Regions from separate parts of the Homo sapiens genome. Here all the other regions are linked to region 1. The links are contacts of gene promoters, found by promoter capture Hi-C in blood cells and fetal thymus (Javierre and others, 2016). All regions are on one chromosome and are shown on one strand. The core of a region is centred on a gene start or on the middle of the fragment in contact, and the rest is flanking DNA. Distances in the headings are between cores, read along the strand shown.

Region 1 (4,560 bases), core at 1,109-3,608:
ATGCCTGTAATCCCAGCGCTTTGGGAGGCCAAGGCAGGCAGATCACTTGAGGTCAGGAGTTCGAGACCAGCTTGTCCAACATGGTCAAACTCCGTCTCTACTAAAAATACAAAAATTAACTGGGCATGGTGGTGTGCATCTGCAATCCCAGCTATTTGGGAGGCTGAGGAAGGAGAATTGCTTGAACTCTGGAGGTGGAGGTTGCAGTGAGCCGAGATTGCGCCATTGCACTCCAGCCTGGGCAACAGAGGGAGACTCCATCTCGAAACAAAACAAACAAACAAACAAAAAACAAAGAGAGTGCAGGAGCTGCAGCAAGCATAATGTAATACCACTGTTTGCTCATGCCTGTCATCCCAGCACTTTGGGAGGCTAAGGCAGGAGGATCGTATGAGCCCAGGGGTTTGAGATCAGCCTGGGCAACACAACAAGATCTCATCTCCACAAAAATAAAAATTAAAAAATTAGCTGGAGGCTAGGTGCGGTGGCTCACGCCTGTAATCCCAGCACTTTGGGAGGCCGAGGCAGGCAGATCACGAGGTCAGGAGTTCACGACCAGCCTGGCCAACATGGTGAAACCCTGTCTCTACTAAAAACACAAAAATTAGCCCAGCGTGGGATTACAGGCCCAGCATGCGCCTGTAATCCCAGCTACTTGGGAGGCTGAGGCAGGATAATCACTTGAACCTGGGAGGCGGAGGTTGCAGTGAGCCAAGATCGTGCCATTGCACTTCAGCCTGGGCAACAGAGTAAGACTCTGTCTCAAAAAGAAAAAAAAAATTAGCTGGGTGTGCTGGTGTGCATCTATAGTCCCAGCTACTTGGGAGACTGAGACAGGAGGATCGCTTGAGCCCAGGAGGTCGATGCTGCAGTGAGCTACAATTGTGCCAGTGTACTCCAGCCTGGGCAAGACCCTGTCTCTAGAAAAAAAGAACCATCTCCCAGAGTTGTATAATTCTTAAACTGCTTGTGCTTAGTCCAATGCTGGGTACATACAGAACCGCTGATAAGCTGGAGCTGTAATTATTATTATTATTATTATTATTATTACCACCATCGCTATTATCATCATTAACGAGTCAGAGATGGAATAACAGGGAAGTAGGAGCTGAGGAGGACAGATGGGGATAGTGTTTACAAGGTAAGAAGTGTTGGATGTTATAAGCTGGGGTGCGGATATTGGGGTGGAGAGAAGAGAGAGACTGACTGAGAGACATTGAGAAAGGCTGATGGAAACTGGCCCCTCCTAACTGGGCGATGAACCCCAGTGATACGAAACAGTGGGAGGCCCTGTGGCCCCTGGGAATAGAGAAGCAGCCACACTTGCTGGGCAGGGGTGAGGCGGGGGGAGGCTCCCAGGTTCTGTATCCCGAGCTGGGACTGGGGAGAGGGCCGTGGCTCTCACGGATGGCTCCTGACCTTGCGCTACCCTCTTCTCGCTTGCCATTGCTGCCCTGGCCCCTGGCCTGGGGGATGGGTGGGGTGAGCTGGCCCAGTCCCGCCCCTCATAGGCGCTTATACTCACACGTGCCCCTCTAGGGCTGCGTAAACAGGATGGGTGCCTGGGTCAGCGGCTCCCTCCCTTGGCCTTCCCTCCCACTCGTTCCCTGGGGGTGGCTGGCGCGCCTGGCTGCCCTGCTCCGCGCCCAGCTTTCTCAGCCGGGAGCAGCCTGAACGCTGAGACACCCTGCTGACCACTCAAAGGGCTATGGCCACCTCCTTCCCCGACACCGAGGGTCCCCCCGGGGGCTCTCCCCAGAATCTCAGAAACTGACACGCAGCCCCGTGTTTGCCAGTCTCTCTCTGTGGGCTGGAAGGTGTGGAGGAACAAGAAGGCAGTCACCTGTAGGTGGCAATGCGGGAGGGGAGAGGGAGAGGAGAGGCTGAGGTGCTGAAACCGAGAAAGGCCAGGCCGAGGACGGGCAATGCCTGTCACTCTGGAGCCCCTGAGCCAGGCTGGCTGAGCCTGGGTGGGTCCTGTCCCCTGGGGCTTCCCTGTCCTTACTCCTTTGGTGGGGTCCTGCCAGTAACTCCTCTCTTCTAAGTCTGCCCCCACCCCACCGCCTCCAGGAGCCAACGACAACCTGTCTCCTTAGATGCCCCTGCCCCCACCCAGCTCCCCGAATGCCTGGGGTTGGGAAATGGGAGCACTTTTGCATCACCTCATCCATTTCTCCCTCCCTCCCTGATGCGGCTCACTCTCTGTTTCGACAGAGACTCTCAGACTCACAATAACAGCTGATTACCCTATTGGTGGCTGGGCCCTGAGTCACTGCGGGGAGGGACCTCAGGTTGCCCAGCCCTGTCACCTTCTCCCAACCTAGAGTATAAGGAGTAGTGACAGGGAGGTGGACTCTGAGAAGCCCAGGCAGTTGAGGACAGGAGAGAGAAGGCTGCAGACCCAGAGGGAGGGAGGACAGGGAGTCGGAAGGAGGAGGACAGAGGAGGGCACAGAGACGCAGAGCAAGGGCGGCAAGGAGGAGACCCTGGTGGGAGGAAGACACTCTGGAGAGAGAGGGGGCTGGGCAGAGATGAAGTTCCAGGGGCCCCTGGCCTGCCTCCTGCTGGCCCTCTGCCTGGGCAGTGGGGAGGCTGGCCCCCTGCAGAGCGGAGAGGAAAGCACTGGGACAAATATTGGGGAGGCCCTTGGACATGGCCTGGGAGACGCCCTGAGCGAAGGGGTGGGAAAGGCCATTGGCAAAGAGGCCGGAGGGGCAGCTGGCTCTAAAGTCAGTGAGGCCCTTGGCCAAGGGACCAGAGAAGCAGTTGGCACTGGAGTCAGGCAGGTTCCAGGCTTTGGCGTAGCAGATGCTTTGGGCAACAGGGTCGGGGAAGCAGCCCATGCTCTGGGAAACACTGGGCACGAGATTGGCAGACAGGCAGAAGATGTCATTCGACACGGAGCAGATGCTGTCCGCGGCTCCTGGCAGGGGGTGCCTGGCCACAATGGTGCTTGGGTGAGTGGCTGTGGGGCTGCATGTGGAAATGGGAGGCTGTGGGCTGCTGGGCTGAGATTCTTGGGAAACGGTTGAAAGGATGGATGGATCTCTTACTTGCAGGCTTCTGGGGCAGCTTCCTTCTATGTTCTGCCCCCCTCCTATGCCACCCTGGAGTCCCTCTGCCTGTCTCTCTCCTGGTCTCTTTATGATTTGCCCTGGCTCTTCTCTACCAGGGTCAGAGATGGTCCCACTAAGTGCAGGTATGTTGTTCTTGCAGGAAACTTCTGGAGGCCATGGCATCTTTGGCTCTCAAGGTGGCCTTGGAGGCCAGGGCCAGGGCAATCCTGGAGGTCTGGGGACTCCGTGGGTCCACGGATACCCCGGAAACTCAGCAGGCAGCTTTGGAATGAATCCTCAGGGAGCTCCCTGGGGTCAAGGAGGCAATGGAGGGCCACCAAACTTTGGGACCAACACTCAGGTAAAGTCACCCCCAGACCTGCTACCTGCCACCTCCCTCCCTCCAAGCCCACATGCTCCGCGTGCCTCCCTGGTCCCTCTGGATCCTACTCTCAGTCTCACCCTCTCTGCAGGGAGCTGTGGCCCAGCCTGGCTATGGTTCAGTGAGAGCCAGCAACCAGAATGAAGGGGTAAGAGGAAGGGGCTGGGAACAAATGAAGAAGCCACTGGGTGCAGGCTACAGAGAGCTGGGGAAAGACAAAGAGGAAAGCAAGATGGGGGAGTGGAGGGATTGGGGTGAGAGGAAGAGATGGGGCTGGGCGAGGTGGCTCACACCTGTAATCCCAGCACTTTGGGAGGCCAAGGCACGTGGATCACCTGAGGTCAGGAGTTCAAGACCAGCCTGGTCAACATGGTGAAACCCTGTCTTCACTAAAAATACAAAAATCAGCCGGTCATAGTGGCATGCGCCTGTAATTGCAGCCACTTGGGAGGCGGAGGCAGGAGAATCACTTGAACCTGGGAGATGGAGGTTGCAGTGAGCCGAGATCGCATCACTGCACTCCAGCCTGAGCAACAGAGTGAGACCCTGTCTCAAAAAAAAAAAAAAAAAAAAAAGGAGGAAGAGACGGGCCTGGGCCTGGGGAGGAGGCAGATGGGAAGGGGAGGTGGGAGAAACACATTAGGAGAAAGGAAGCCAAGCCCCAAAGAATGGGAGAGGCCTGGCCTGTGTCCATGGCCGAGGCCAACGTCTCCAAACTCACCGTCCCCAAACTCACCATCCCTTTCCCTCGACAGTGCACGAATCCCCCACCATCTGGCTCAGGTGGAGGCTCCAGCAACTCTGGGGTGAGTGGAGAGGGGCAACCCAGGAGTTGTGCACCAGGAGGAAATGGAGAAGTTCTGCTCCCCTTAGACTGGGCATCATGGAATATGGCCTGGGTGGAGAGGGAGGGAGGAGGGGCCCGTCTTGGTGCTCTGTCTTTAATCCCAGCCCTGCTCCCTTCCTGCCCCTCAGGGAGGCAGCGGCTCACAGTCGGGCAGCAGTGGCAGTGGCAGCAATGGTGACAACAACAATGGCAGCAGCAGTGGTGGCAGCAGCAGTGGCAGCAGCAGTGGCGGCAGCAGTGGCGGCAGCAGTGGTGGCAGCAGTGGCAACAGTGGT
Region 2 (4,560 bases), core at 1,226-3,725, 93 kb before region 1:
CCTCTCACCTTGGCCTCCCAAAGCACTGAGATTACAGGCATGAGCCATTATACCTGGCCACTTTCTGCTTTTATTTATTTATTTTTTTTGTGACAGAGTCTCCCTCTGTCGCCCAGGCTGGAGTGCAGTGGCACAATCTCGGCTCACTGCAACCTCTACCTCTTGGGTTCAAGCAATTCTCTGCCTCAGCCTCCCAAGTAGCTAGGATTACAGGCATGCACCATCATACCCGGCTAATTTTTGTATTTTTAGTAGAGACGGGGTTTCACCATGTTGGCCAGGCTGGTCTCAAACTCCTGACCTCAAGTGATCCACTTGCCTCAGCCTCCCAAAGTGCTGGGATTACAGGTGTGAGCCACTGCACCTGGCCTCACTTTCTGCTTCTTATGCTCAATGTCTCCTTGTTTTGGAGACATGTCACCATTTGTCCTTTTCTTGGTTCCTTTCTCATGGTATCTGTTCTGTTGGCCTTGGTGGGAGGTACTGGTGCCTTCCTGCTTTCTTAGATCCTGAAGGAGCAGAGCCCCTGTGGCCTCTTGGTCTTCTTCTGTCAGCATCTCTCTCCCTTTGCTTTATCTGAAATCTCTTTTCTGTTTTTCTGGATAATTTCAGGATGCTTTTTGGAACCCATCCACCATCTGAGAGATAATAAGAAGCTTCTCTAGGACTTGTGATTTTGGTTTCAGCAGCTCCTTCCACGTTTGAGAAGAGTCTTCTCATTTCTTACTCATAGAACATCCCATCAGACATTTCTCCTGATCCACATAGTAATTCAGGGATCCAGGCTTCTTCCATAAGGTGATTCAACCATCTTCTATGGGCTCAGAGTCTTTTGAATCCAGGCAGAAGAGAGAATAAGGAACTCGCACCTGCTTCTTGAAAGTCTTCACCCTAAAGTGACATACATCACTTCTGCTCTCAGTCCATTGAACATAACTTGTCTTATGGCTTCAACTAGCTGCAAGGGCCTCTGGGAAATGTAGTCCTGGTCTAGGCAGTCAATAAACATCCTGCTGGCTCTGCCACAGAAGGCCTTTCTAAGATGTTCTTTGAGCTGAGACGTGAGAGCCAAAGTGTGAGAGCTACTTGAAAACTGTGAAAATGGAGTTCCCAAAGTGGGAACAGCAAGTGGAAAGACCCTGATGCTGGAATGTGCTCAAAGGAACAGTAAGAAATGAGCTTCTGGCTGGGCGTGATGGCTCATGCCTGTAATCCCAGCACTTTGGGAGGCTGAGGCAGGTGGATCACCTGAGGTTAGGAGTTTGAGACTAGCCTGACCAACATGGAGAAACCCCGTCTCTACTAAAAATACAAAAAAATCAGCCGGGTGTGGTGGTGCATGCCTGTAATCTCAGCTACTTGGGAGGCTGGGGCAGGAGAATCGCTTGAACCCAGGGGGCAGAGGTTGTTGTGAGCTGAGATCGTGCCATTGCACTCCAGCCTGGGCAACAAAAGTGAAACTCCGTCTCAAAAAAAAAAAAAAAAAGAACTTTTATTTTGTGAGCTACTGAAATGGTGGGGTTTATTTGTTATAGCAGCTAGCATGACTCTAAATAATATACCTTGTAGACATCATTGCCCACTAGCTCAGTGTATCTCAAACTACTTGTAACTATGGAGAAGGATCATTTGTTTGATGTTTCCAACCTGTCATGGACCAATCCTTTTGGTCTCTACCCTGTTCAACAAGAAAATCCATTGATCCTATACTTGGATGTCATGGATATGTCAAATTGCTGTGTTTCTAAACACTTGCTGGCAATTTCCGTACTTATCTGGTGGCACACCATTGCAGACACCAGCTCGGTTGGGGAGACCCTAACCCACTGGTGCTAGAGGAATTAAACACACACACACAGAAATATAGAGGTGTGAAGTGGGAAATCAGGGGTCTCACAGCCTTCAGAGCTGAGAGCCCCGAACAGAGATTTACCCACATATTTAGTAACAGCAAACCAGTCATTAGCATTGTTTCTATAGATATTAAATTAAAAGTATCCCTTATGGGAAACGAAGGGATGGGCCGAATTAAAGGAATAGGTTGGGCTAGTTAACTGCAGCAGGAACACGTCCTTAAGACACACATCGCTCATGCTATTGTTTGTGGCTTAAGAATGCCTTTAAGTGGTTTTCCACTCTGGGCGGGCCAGGTGTTCCTTGCCCTCATTCCCGTAAACCCACAACCTTCCAGCTTGGGCGTTAGGGCCATTATGAACATGTCACAGTGCTGTGGAGATTTTGTTTGTGGCCAGTCTTGGGGTCAGTTTATGGCCATATTTTGGGGGGCTTGCTCCCAACACCATAATAGTTGCTGGACCAGTCCTGGCACCACTTTAGCTTCTTATTCTGTTTTATTTTTCTCTATAGCATTTACCATTCCCTGTAATTATCTTGTTTATTTTTGGGTATACTTGTTTATAGTTTTCTTTCCCACTAGAATGTAAGCTCCATCAGAGAAGAAGTTGGCCTTACTTCTCTTGCTCCGTTGTGTTCCTCGTTCCCAAGACAATGCCTGGGACACAGTAGGTGCTCAGAAAGTATTTGTTAAATAATGAGTATTTGTTAAATAAAAATCATGGCTGGGAACAGTGGCTCACGCCTATAATCCCAGCACTTTGGGAGGCCAAGGCAGACAGATTGGTTGAGCTCAGGAGTTTGAGACCAGTCTGGGCAGCATGGCAAAACCCTGTCTCTACAAAAAATATAAAAATTTGCTGGGCATGGTGGCATGCACCTGTAGTCCTAGCTACTCAGGAGGCTGAGGCATGAGAATCACTTGAACCTGGGAGCCAGAAGTTGCAGTGAGCTGAGATTGTGCCACTGCATTCCAGTCTGGGTGACATAGTGTGACCCTGTCTCAAAAAAAAATTTAATAAAATGAAATAAAAATAACAAGGAGGGTGGGGGGAAGGAGGCAATCCATATCTGTTACAGAGGCTCTCTACAATCAGAACCTGACCAGAACTCTAACCAGTTTGTTAACAGCCATTGAGATCCCCTCAAGAGCTGTGGTTTTTTGATAGACCATGGTAGCTCAGATTAGATGTCAACTGAAGAATCATGAGGTTTTGATATGGTTTGGCTGTCCCCACCCAAATCTCATCTTGAATTGTAGTTCCCCAAATCCCCATGTGTTGTGGGAGGGACCTAGTGGGAGGTAATCGAATCATGGGGGTGGTTACCCCCATGCTGCTGTTCTTGAGATAGTGAGTTCTCACGAGATCTGATGGTTTTATAAGGGGCTTTTCCCTCTTTGCTTGGCACTTCTCCTTCCTGCTGCCATCTGAGGAAGGACGTTTTTGCTTTCTTTTCCACCATGATTTTAAGTTCCCTGAGGCCTCCCCAACCCTGCGGAACTGTGAGTCAATTAAACCTCTTTCCTTTATAAATTACCCAGTCTTGGGCAGTTCTTTTCAGCAGCGTGAGAACAGACTAATACAGGTTTACAAATTTGGAAAGGAGAGCTTTATTTCTCATAAAGAGTTGCAGCCTGCAGCCGGGCCATCTCACAGGCCGAGAAGTGTAGCCTCCGGTAGAAGCTGAGAGCAGGCACCTCCAGTAAGGGAAGGATAAGGTCAGAGTTAACGCTGAATGGCTTGGCTCAGTATACATATTCAACAGGTTATAGGAGGAGCTATGAATATTCATGAAGGGAAGGTACAGCACATGTGTAGTAACATCCCATATTCACTTTTTTTTTTTTTTTTTTTTTTTTTTGAGATGGAGTCTTACTCTGTCACCCAGGCTGTAGTGTAGTGGTGCGATCTCAGCTCACTGCAACCTCTCTTTCCCAGGGTTCAAGCAATTCTCCTGCCTCAGCCTCATGAGTAGCTGGGATTACAGGCACCCATCACCATGCCTGGCTAATTTTTTTATTTTTAGTAGAGACAGGGTTTCACCATGTTGGCCAGGCTGGTCTCAAACTCCTGACCTCAGGTGATCCGCCCACCTTGGCCTCCCAAAGTGCTGGGATTACAGGCGTGAGCCACCGTGCCAGGCCCCATGTTCACTTTGGAGTGGAGACTTAACACTTAAATGTATTACAATTAGGCCCTATACATCAAAAGGTGATGCAGAGGACACAAAGGCCCTTTGTGTGCAGCCTCTGTAGACTGGCCAGAGCCACACCCCGTGGTTAGGTGGCCTCTGATCAGGAAGGAATGCTGGTCAGTTGTTATGTTGAAACCACAAAAGGGAGGAGCAGCCATGTATTTCAGGCCATTGGTTGAAATTAGCAGTGAATGAGTCTTTCAATAGGGCTGGTTTCTGTTTAACCCTTAGGGAAGAAAGCTTCATGGCAGTCAGCAAGGGAGGAGGTAGAATGAGGTGTGCCCGACCACCCGTTCAGTCACGGCTAGGAACTCAGCTTTTAGTGTTTCTCTGTAGGCCCCTTGGCCAAGACAGTGTTCATTCAGCCAGTTGGCGGACTTAGGATTTTATTTTTGTCACGTGCGTCCGTGTGAAGAGACCATCAAACAGGCTTTGTGTGAGCAGTAAAAGCTTTTTAATCACCTGGGTGCAGGCGGACTGAGTCCGAAAAAGGAGTCAGCAAAGGGAGAT
Region 3 (4,560 bases), core at 1,407-3,906, 74 kb before region 1:
GGGATTACAGGCACGCACCACCACAGTGGCTAATTTTTGTATTTTTATAGAGACAGGGTTTCACTATGTTGGCCAGGCTGGTCTCGAACTCCTGGCCTCAGGTGATCCTCCCACCTCAGTCTCCCAAAGTGCTAGGATTACAGGTGTGAGCCACTGCACCCGGCCTTATTTTTTACATTTATTTATTTTGGAGACAAAGTCTAGCTGTGTCCCCCAGGCTGAAGTGCAGTAGTATCACTATGACTTACTGCAGCCTCAAAATCCTGGGCTAAAGTGATCCTCTCACCTCACCCTCCTGAGTAACTGAGACTACAGGCGTGTGCCACCACGCCTGGCTAATTTTGAAAAATTTTGTAGAAAAGAGTTATCTATCGACTTGCTGCCTAGGCTGGTCTCAAAGTCCTGGGCTCAAGCCATCCTCCTCTCTCAGCCTCCCAAAGCATTGAAATTACAGGCACGAGCCACTGTGCCTGGCCTCGTTTTGTGTTTACCTGGTGCTAAATACCAGTTGGATACCCGAGAGTGAAATTCAGGTTGGATGAAGTCTGGGAGCTGAAGTGGAGGAGGCTGGCTGGCTTTCCAAGGCCTGTAGCAGAAGGTGACACTTGGGTCTGCCTGCTGATGTTGACATGGACCATCCTAACCTGACATGGCTTTGCAGCTGAATGTGACAGGCCCAGCCTGGGCTGGATCTGGAGAGGGACAGGGATGGCTAACCCTCTAGATCTGCTAACATGACAGACAATTAGGCATCATCCTATCTGCAGGCATCCCCATAACCCAGAGCATTGTCCCACAAACACATGAGATCTGCCCAGACACCCAAGCCCACAGAGGAGACAAACTCAGCATCACAACAATTACAATTAAGGTGGACTAGGGCCTTTGTTGTTTCCTTCTATTATTATTTCCTATAGACCACCCAACAAGATGGATGTCTCTGTTGGGTATGAACTTGAAGCTGTAATCCCAGATGTGCAAGAAATAGAACTCTATTCTCCTGCATCTGCACTGGTTTGGGTGGATTGGGCTGTGGAAACAGGCCAAGCATGTCATTTGTCAACATGGTAGTCTATTTTCTGCTTGACCACATGAGGCAGTTGGGGGAAGGGAGGCTGTTCCTAGAATGGTTCAGGGACCCAGGCTAATGGGGGCTTTGCCACGTCTACAACATGTGGCCTTCTAAATCATCACATGGGTATCCCTTGCCCCGTTGGCCGGGGGAGGAGGAGTTTAGAGGAGTGTCCCAGGAGACATTGAAAAGCCAGGTTTGTTTGTGGTACATGTCAGTTCTGCTCACATTCCACAGGACCAAAGCACATTTCATGGCTGCAGAGGGGAACCTCTGAGACGTGGCCAGGCAATGTTCCCAGAACAAAGAGGCGATGGGCTCTGGGGGACAGTGAGCAGTCTCTTGCCCAGCAGCTCCATTGACTTTCTACTGAGAATCCCCATTCTCCATGGTGGTGGAAACTTAGTTCTGCTAAATATTGTGCTAAATATTCATCTGGTTCTGAACTTGGGGTTGTCCATGAAGCTTGGGCATCAGAGGCAGCCCCGGGGTGTCTGTGGCCCATGGTGTCAGTCTAGATCTCTGTTTTGATTCATGCACGATGGCTCCCTGCTTATCCCTAGTTTTCCTCTACAGTTCTGTCTCCACCTGGCACTTGGGATTCCTATGGAACCCACCTTCTTCTCACTAGGCTGGGCCATGGGGTATCCTCCTTGGCTGTCTGAGGTCATTTCTTTGTAAATGTCTACACCATGTAGCATATCTTCTTTGAGAACTTGGAGCCTCTCTAGGCCTTATCTGTGAGGAGGGATTATAGATAACAGCTGGGGTCTCTGACGCCCCTCTTCCTCAGATGCAGATTCCAGGAACCTTATGGATGTACTATTGTCTAATCTCTCTCTACATTCCCTTTTCCATGAATGGGGAACCAATGCCTTTCTGGAGGGGGGAGAGGTGGTCTTCATCAGCTATTCTGCCAAAGCTATTTGCATTTCTTGAGGACTTTCCATTCTTCTCCTAAGAGCTTGACATTTGGATGTCAGAAGCTGGAAGAGGTTTCTGTTTTCTTATTGCTGCTCTGAGACACTAGACATCTCCAATCCCAGCTCAAATGAGAAGACCCCTAGAGAATAAACATCAGTTCAGATTTCTAAATATCATCCCCACATTGGCAATTATGCCTGCTTTAGAGACAAAGGAACTATGCTCAAGAAAAGTATCTGTTCAGGGCTATACAGTTTTTCAGTGTCAGAGGTAAGTTTTTAACTGACATCTGCCTGAATTCTATGTCTGTGGGCTTCCCCATTGGGACATTCTGATTTTCACAGTCTAGGAAACAGCTCCAGGGAAACACAGATACTGACCACTGACCCAGAAAACAATCATGGGCATGTTGACACACACACATACACACACACCACAGGAAACCAGAACATTCCATTCCAGTTTTTTGGTTTAAAATTCCTCTGAAAGAACAGCCCAGTGTCAAGGAGCTAAAGGGATCTAGGGCATGAAGTGTGGACCCCTAGGGTGAACGAAGACAGCTCTGGAGCTGAGTGAGTTGAAGTAGCACAGGCAGGTGGTCTGTGTGTTCCTGGGTTGGTGGGTTTCTTGAATGTTGAGTTCCTTGGTTAGAGGATTTCTTGGCTAGATGTCTCAGCGGTTGAATTTCTTGCCTGATGGCTGACTTGGCTGGTTAGTGTTTGGTGAGTGGCTCGGTTGGGGAGCGGACCCCTGGGTTGCTATGCCTAGACTTCATTAATATAGGACCAAGCCATAAATGATGCCTAAGCCAATCATTACCACGAATGCACCGAACCAACCAGTTCGGCCTGAGTTGATGTAAGCCTCTTCCCATTCACTGTTCTGGTTGGCCTTCATAGTCTGTAGGGGTGGAAGCATAGATGTGGGTTTCTGTGTCCAGGAACCCTGGGGAGAACGGTTGGAGACCTGCAGTCACTGAGGGAAAGCCCCTATGCAGGTCCCAGGATAGGAGCAGATGCAGGGGCCAAATGGAGGACAGGGTAGGCTGGGTGCAGTGGCTCACGCCTGTAATGCCAGCACTTTGGGAGGCCAAGGCGGGTGGATCACAAGGTCAGAAGCTCGAGACCAGCCTGGCCAGCATGGTGAAACCCCGTCTCTACTAAAAATACAAAAATGAGCCGGGCACTGTGGCTCATGTCTGTAATCCCAGCTACTCAGGAGGCTGAGGCAGGAGAATTGCTGGAACCGGGAAGGCAGAGATTGCAGTGAGCCGAGATTGCACCACTGCACTCCAGCCTGGGGGACAGAGTGAGACTGGGTCTCAAAAAGAAAAAAAAAAAAAAAAAAGGACGGGGGCTATGACTTGGGCATTATTTTACCTCATAAGAGAAGTACAAAGCTGCCAATCCAAATGGAGGGAATAAAAGTATAGCAAAGATGGTCAAACATAGGTAGTTTGGGGCGTAAAATGCTAGTTCCTCTGGTGTCTGTGTAGGCTCTTGCGGCTCCTGGGGCACCTCAGCTGGGGCACCTGGACCACCTGTGGTAGTGGGAGAACCTGGGGCAGCTGAAGCACCTGGATCACCTGTGGTAGGGGGGGCGTCTGGGGTAGCTGGCGCGTTGGGAGCAGGCTGGGTGGCAGAAGGTGGTTTCAGGGCCATGACCTTTCCCCTCAAAGACGGACTCCGAGTGTCTTGAAAACGGAGCGCCAGACCCACTAGGCTTCCCCTTGTACTAACCAGACTCCCAGGACCCAAACCATCAAAGGCTGAAGCTTCGCAATGGAGAAACCAGCACCCCACGTCCTGATTGGCTGCCTAGTTAGGGGGCGTGGCCCCGCCGTTCTCGCCCACCCCAAGACACAGAGAGTGCAGCCAATCAGGAAGTGGGCTCCGCCCACCCTGGTAGGGATTGGTTGGAAGCCTAAGTGGTGGCTCTCGGCTCCTCCTCCTCCCACTGATCTCTCTCTGCAGCCTGCGCGGATGGGCGATGTCAGGAGGGTCTCCCAGGAGTTGTGGAAGAGAGAAACTAGACACGCCCAGTAAGAGTAAGAGATTTACTGAGGGGAGGAAAATGAGTAGTGTCAGAAGTGGATTGTAAAGTCTTGAATTAAAAATGAATTCCGGCTGGGCGCAGTGGCTCATGCCTGTAATCCCAACACTTTGGGAGGCCAAAGCGGGCGGATTACCTGCGATCAGGAGTTCGAGACTAGCCTGACCAACGTGGTGAAACCCCGTCTCTACTAAAAATACAAAAATTAACCGGGTGTGGTGGCAGGCGCCCGTAATCCCAGCTACTAGGGAGGATGAGGCAGGAGAATCGTTTGAACCCGGGAGGCGGAGGTTGCAGTGATTCGAGATCACACTGCACACTCCAGCCTGGGTGACAGAGTGAGACTCCATCTCAAGAAAAAATGACAAAAAAAAAAAAAAAAAAGAATTCCTTGGTTTATGCTGACAGAAAGAAAAAAGGAAAGAATAGAGAAAGAAGGGGAAAAGGGGGAAGATCTTTCTTAAAGTAGAACACAACCTAATGGAACGATGGAACAGGAAATCCCCAATGTG

The links. Contacts are between HindIII fragments. The CHiCAGO score rates a contact against its expected background, and 5 or more counts as called.
Region 2: a contact is called between a fragment that was not itself captured here and the fragment with the promoter of DMKN in region 1, in 4 of 17 cell types (M1 macrophages, M0 macrophages, M2 macrophages and 1 more). The highest score is 9.4, in M1 macrophages.
Region 3: a contact is called between a fragment that was not itself captured here and the fragment with the promoter of DMKN in region 1, in 3 of 17 cell types (M2 macrophages, M0 macrophages and M1 macrophages). The highest score is 6.2, in M2 macrophages.

Annotation. Positions count from the first base shown.
Region 1 is chr19:35,511,447-35,516,006 of GRCh38, reverse strand. DMKN (dermokine) reads left to right here and starts at 2,358. Exons shown (of 16, transcript NM_033317.5): 1 at 2,358-2,957; 2 at 3,217-3,417; 3 at 3,530-3,586; 4 at 4,194-4,244; 5 at 4,414-4,560. The coding sequence starts at 2,532. The HindIII fragment of the contact is 13,607 bases long and covers 1-4,560 here.
Region 2 is chr19:35,604,856-35,609,415 of GRCh38, reverse strand. HAUS5-DT (HAUS5 divergent transcript) reads left to right here. Exons shown (of 2, transcript NR_186318.1): 2 at 613-1,027. Among named protein-coding and RNA genes, the nearest start is that of HAUS5-DT, 5.5 kb to the left of the region's middle. The HindIII fragment of the contact is 3,634 bases long and covers 659-4,292 here.
Region 3 is chr19:35,585,357-35,589,916 of GRCh38, reverse strand. PMIS2 (PMIS2 transmembrane protein) reads right to left here and starts at 3,744. Exons shown (of 2, transcript NM_001395412.1): 1 at 3,376-3,744; 2 at 2,621-2,941. The coding sequence starts at 3,657. The coding sequence ends at 2,771. The HindIII fragment of the contact is 2,233 bases long and covers 1,540-3,772 here.